2 separate regions of the Homo sapiens genome follow, and region 1 is linked to region 2. The links are contacts of gene promoters, found by promoter capture Hi-C in blood cells and fetal thymus (Javierre and others, 2016). All regions are on one chromosome and are shown on one strand. Each heading gives the region's core, a stretch centred on a gene start or on the middle of the fragment in contact. The rest is flanking DNA. Distances are from core to core; before and after follow the strand shown. Region 1 holds the start of MANSC1 (MANSC domain containing 1). Region 2 holds the start of CLEC2B (C-type lectin domain family 2 member B).

What was found. The method cuts DNA at HindIII sites, captures the fragments that hold promoters and counts their contacts. A CHiCAGO score of 5 or more calls a contact.
Region 1: a contact is called between the fragment with the promoter of MANSC1 here and the fragment with the promoter of CLEC2B in region 2, in 1 of 17 cell types (non-activated CD4 T cells). The highest score is 6.2, in non-activated CD4 T cells.

The regions. Positions count from the first base shown.
Region 1 is chr12:12,348,896-12,351,921 of GRCh38, forward strand. MANSC1 (MANSC domain containing 1) reads right to left here and starts at 1,347. Exons shown (of 4, transcript NM_018050.4): 1 at 1,183-1,347. RefSeq lists a silencer at 1,348-1,657. The HindIII fragment of the contact is 5,175 bases long and covers 453-3,026 here.
Region 2 is chr12:9,868,104-9,871,093 of GRCh38, forward strand. It overlaps CLEC2B (C-type lectin domain family 2 member B), which reads right to left and starts at 1,251. Exons shown (of 5, transcript NM_005127.3): 1 at 1,102-1,251. The HindIII fragment of the contact is 5,556 bases long and covers 1-1,365 here.

The DNA of each region.
Region 1 (3,026 bases), core at 97-2,596, 2.5 Mb after region 2:
CCCATTATTATCCTCATTTTAGTTAAAACTTACAAAAAGTTGTGGGACATAATATGTGCTTCTTTATTAACCTATTAAGTAACAAGTGGTCATCTAATAACTGCCATAATTTTGACGTGGTATTGAGTATAGATAATATTTTGAAACGTGCAACAAGTCATGTGATATAAAGATATCGGCAATATTTACAGGGGGCAAATCATAGCTACTGCTAATACTACTGTGGCTTTTGCCTACATTCCATTTCAGAAGTCGGTGAAATAATAATTTTTTCCACTCAAGTTCACAGACATCCTGAATTCTATCCATGGATACCTTATCGTGGACTCCCCAGGTTAATAATTCTGGCCAAGGTACTTAATACGCTGCCATATTTTGCAAGCCTCTAGGGAATCAAGAGAAAACCAGGCCAATACTTTATTTTGAATGGATTCTAATGTAGCCTCTTTTCAAGCTTTTGCAAAGAAACCTGAACTATGTAAGGAGATGGGGCAGGAGTTGTTTTCAGTATGCAGCATTGAGAGAAGTGTTTAAGAGTTTTATATCATTAAAGAGGCTCAGCAATATTAGGTTAGCGACGTTTTCTAATCCATTATTATTTAGGCTTTAAGGGCCTGAAGTCGAGTTGAATCTTGTTGAAAGACGGGGTAAAAGGATACAGGCGGGTGAGAGAGGATGCCCCTGAGTTTTAACGTCTGCATACAAGAGTCGCTAAAACTTACTCGCACGTAATTAGTTCAAATATTGGAAATCGTCTTACAGCACACTATAATTTACCAAGATGCTTATAACTGTATACACACACACACTCTACAGAGAATTAGACAATTAGCAGTTTCAATAATGAATACAGAGTCAACGACAAGAAAACAGGGAACATTTTCTCTTCCTTTGAGGAAATGCATGTTGCCTACTGAGCTATTCTTCTGCCTCTCCTTCTGATGTCAACGCAGAGCCAGAGCCATTTATGGCAGGTGCCTTGAGCCCGCCTAGAGGTCCCCTTTGGAATACTGCAGCGACTCAAGGATCCTGGTCAGCCCTTATTGGCCCCAGCTGGTCCTTTGGATGCTCGGGTGTGGGTGAAGGAGCCTCGGCCCCTGGAAAGGAGGGGACCGACTCTCTCCGCAGGTAGCGACGTCGCCTGCGGCCGGTCGGGGGTGGGTATTGGGGAGACCCCTTTACCTGGCGTCGAGAGGACCCCGGCGCCCCTGCTGCCATCCAGGTGCGAGGACAGCTCTGTCGCGCCCGCGGGAAGGACCGGCGAATCCGCGCGGGGGTCTCGGCGAGGACCGCAGCGGATGCTCCGCAGCTCCCGCACCGGCCTGGCGGGTTTTGTGGTTAGCAAGTTCCTGCTTCCGTCGCAGCGACGGCAAGTTTGCCGCGGGGGAAGGGCACGTTCCTGCCCTGCAACCCGGAGCTGCTTCCCGGCAACATTAGCGCGTCCCTCCCCGCGGAGGCTCCGGGCTCCCGGCCCCAGCGCTGAGCCCCGCAGGGAGGTGGCTCCCCCCACCGCCCCGCGCTCCCCCCCAGCTCAGCCACACCGCTGACCCCGGGCTGGGCGCGCTGCGAGGGGGAGTGCGTGCCTCCCTGCTGGTGGCCCGAGGGTCTGCAGGTGAGCCTTGCCTCGCGGCCCGCGCAAGTTAAAATAAATGCACATGGGGAAAATGTCAAACAGTACAAAAATAGACACAGAGACAAGTCTACCCCTCACCCCCGTGCCCCAGTCTCCTAGTCTCCCTCCTCAGAGGCAACCACTGAGAGCAGTTTTTTGATGTTCAAGGGCTTATAGTGCATCCTATTGGGGGCATAGTTCTGAGAATCCTCTTTCCATAATTGGAGGATGGAGTCCTCAATTAAAGATGGCAATTCTTGAGTTAAATATTATCTGCAAGACAAACTTCAGGGAAGGTATTTGGCTTTCTGCGGGATTTATTGTTTGTAGATAGGATAATAATGGTGAAAATGCTGGTGTCTGTAACATATATTAAAACTGTATCCCTAACACTTAGCATAGTGCCTGGTACACAATAGGTGCTCAGTAAATATTTAACTAAAATATTTTTGTTGACTGAATGAATGGAAAAGAACTGCATAGGGCATAGGTTGTGGAAGTTTCTAAATTACTGCTGGCCCCATCCCCACCTCCATAAACACACACACAAATGCAACGTTACTAAACCATTGACACTTAGTTTGCCATATGGTCTAACCTTTGACAGTATCTTCACCTCTGTTTTGAAAGAGCTTGCAGACCTGAAGCGCTATGCAATTGCAAGTTAAGTCTAGGCCTGTACGGCCAACAGCTACACACCCTAGTCTTAACCAATAACTACAGGAGGATTAGGTTGACTGAGAATGCTTGTGAACAAAGGTCCATTGTGTGAAACTAACTCTACTTGTAACCAAAGGATGACTCTTGAATTACAATGTTGCTAAAGCTAGGTTTGAAAGAGTTACCAAAGAAAAGTAAACACCAGAGTAATTTCCCATTGCAGTGATTTTCCTGATGCAACAAGGGACTGATCTGCAAGTGTGTTTTATCTTTTATCATCTGATACACTTCAGGGTTCAGGGTGTAGAGCTATCACAGTTTTTGAATCTCTCTACATGGGGTAATCCATGCTAGTTACAAAGTAGACCTTTCCATTATTAGAAACTTCGTATTCGGTGCTTTAATACAATGAACCTGTTTCTTTTTTTGTTTTGTTTTGTGTTTTGTTTGTTTTTAGAGACGGAGTCTCGCTGTGTTGCCCAGGCTGGAGTGCAGTGGTGTGATCTCGGCTCACTGCAACCTCCACCTCCCGGGTTATAGCAATTCTTTTGCCTCAGACTCCTGAGTAGCTGGGACTACAGGCACATGCCGCCACGCCCAGCTAATTTTTTTCTATTTTAGTAGAGATGGGGTTTCACCGTGTTGCCCAGGCTGGTCTCGAACTCCTGAGCTCAGGCAATCCGCCCGCCTCGGCGTCCCAAAGTGCTAGGATTACAGGCGTGAGCCACTGTGCCCGGCCTGAACCTGTTTTCAT
Region 2 (2,990 bases), core at 1-2,500:
ATACTGAATATATTATTCAGTAACTTTTAAAATATATTCATATGTAATATGATATATAATATTGTATTATATAATGTATTTATATACAAATGTATAAATTTATACAATTGATTGAAAGTAGAAAATAACACTGGTTTTACTAGTGGCTGGAAGGCCTTCTTAAAACTTTTGATTAAAATGATATTTTATGCTACCATCAAATATTGATCTCATTCCCCGCAAACCTGTTTTATCTAACTTTAGGCAGAATTATAAAACCGGTTAAAATACGGGAGGAAGGATAAAGTGTGCATTCTATTGTACCACAGCAATAATTTTTTTGACCGTAGCATACGCTGGTAGGTTGACATTTAGTTAAACGGGAAATGCTTAAAGCTCATCACAGTCCCTAAATCTCTAAATCATAGATCGTTGTATTGAATGCATTTAGTTTCAGCCTTTTCTCTTTCAAATATTTTGACATAAATAAACCCTGTTGAAATCTCAAAGATGTAGCTTGGATCTTATATATTCCGAACTTGCTATTTAATAAATCCAATGTTACCAGGTTGTTTCATAGTGTATTTTTTAGAACATTTTCTTTCCTTATCCTTCTTAGGGTTGGTAAAGACATCTCCATGGATATCGGAGTACTAGCAATTCCTTAGTAAGAGTAGGAAAGGGATATATTCTTTCCGTTAAGTACTCCTAAAGCCCGGAGTATCTTTACACCATCCAATAAAGCAATCTTTAAAAATATTAGAACTATTGGCTAAATTTATCATATTATGTATGCATTCTGAGAACTGTATGAGTATCTGGATCATATCTATCATCTTCTCAAGTATTTGTTTTATAAAATACTTAGTAAAAATGAAACTAAATCTTGAGCAGTTTTAAGTCATGGTTAATCCTTCTCCATTGTAATTCAAATAATGTAAAGTAAGTCTGAATTTATTAGGACAAAACAGTCATATGCAAATCTCAATCTTGTTATAAGAAGGAATTTTCTAGTTTCACAAAAGAAACCACAAAATTTAATTCTTTTCTCGAAGGCTTTAACATTCTGCATCACAATTTCAATAAATAACGGTCATTCTAAACAAACAAAAATGTTCTTACCGTGCTTCTTTTAATCAGCGTTTTGATTTTCTGCTAGCAGCTTTGTGTCATGTCTTGCAGAAACTCTCTTCAAAGTTGTAACTTTATTTAACTTTAATATAAAAATGTTACTCTTGTTTTTACAGCACAGCTCCAAACTAGAGGTATACCACTTTTGAAGAGTAACTCAAAGTATAAATAGCATTTTGCAAACTGGAAGTAACCATGTGACTATCTATTAGTCATACTGTTGTTTATTACAATTTTCTTCTCGTCAAAAAAGAAAGCTTGCCAAGGAGGAAGGAAGTTTGTGATATAACAATTTAAAGCTGAAGAATAAACACATATTTTCTTACTTTCTCAACTGGGATTCTCATCTGAACCACAGAACACGAAATTGCTCAAGTGGCTGTTTTTCTGATTCATCCAGGAGTGGTACTTAACCACGTATCCTTCCAGAACTGTAGGAGAGGCTGATACTAATTAATTCAACAGCATTCTTTAGGACATTACTGCTTTCTTATCCTGTGTTAAGAAAGATCACCTTAAAAGCGATAGAATCAAAGAAAAAGCAATGGTTTAAACTTTGGCTACTGAAAGAAAAACAAAAACTATTATCTCTCTCTCAAAGACAAATGCGTGCAAAGTCACACGTGTGGGTGTGAGCACACACACAAACACACACAAAGACACACAGAGGGAAAAAAGAAAACGAAAGTAACAAAGTGCCCAGAACGTTATCATCAGCATACAAGATGACACCATTATGCTTTTGCTAAGTTACCAGGCCACAATTTTGTCTTCAAATCTGCTCTAATCAGTTTCCCAGTGATTTTGTATTACCCCTCAACAAATATATTAGGGAGGAAACTGAGGAGAAGAAGCCAGTGTCCCGCAAGCGGCTTCGGGATTAACACTGCATTTGTTCTGAGAGAGAAACTTGAAGAGGAAAAGCAAATGAGAATAGAGAAGAAACTGTAGTACAAAGGAATTAAAACAAAGAAAATATGAAGAGAATAAGAAATACAGGTTTAATCATTTCTGGGCAGAAGGAAAGGACAGATAACAAAATTGCTCTTTTCATTTTTGGACAGAAAAAAAAGACAGAAAATTCATGAGGAAATGAATATATTCTACCTTTGTTGTTAACAAAAGATTGTATCCAAAGAACTATTAGAAAAGCATGTATAGAAAAATATAGAGATTACTCAAGTATGGTTGAGTGAAATTTAGTTTTGTTCCAAAAAGGAAAACAGTCAAGATACAACAGTTAAGATATAAAACATTTTCAACACAGGGAAATGTTCCCCGCTGTTGCTTTGCAGTTCATCCTCACCCCTGAAGCCAGGCAGCAGCCAACTTACTGTCAATAAACATGAGCTTTGCTGGTTTTAGAAATTCCTGTTAAGCAGAATGATACAGTTGGCAATTCTTGTAAGTCTGATGTCTTTCACTGAGCATAATGTTTTTGAGTTTTATCCATGTTTTTGCACAGATCAGCAGTTAATTTCTTTTTATTACTGAGTAGTATTTCATTGTACAGACATAAAATATTTTTATCTATTTTATAATAAAATGTATCCATTATGACATTGAGCTTTTTCCACTTCTTGGATATCATAAGGTCAAAATAAACATTTATGCAAAAGTTTTTCTATTGACACGTTTTTTAATCTTTTGAAGAAATACCTGGATGTGAAACTGCTAGGTTACATAGAAAATGTATGTTTTATTTTATAAATGTATTTTTTTCCAAAAAGTTGTGCCATTCCCAACATGAATATTGGATGGTTCTATTTGCTCCACATAAATAGCAATATTAGATATGCCCAATCTTTTTCAATTTAACCATTCTAGTAGGCGTGTAGTAGAATCTAAATGTGATTTTAATTTGTACATCTCTGATGTTA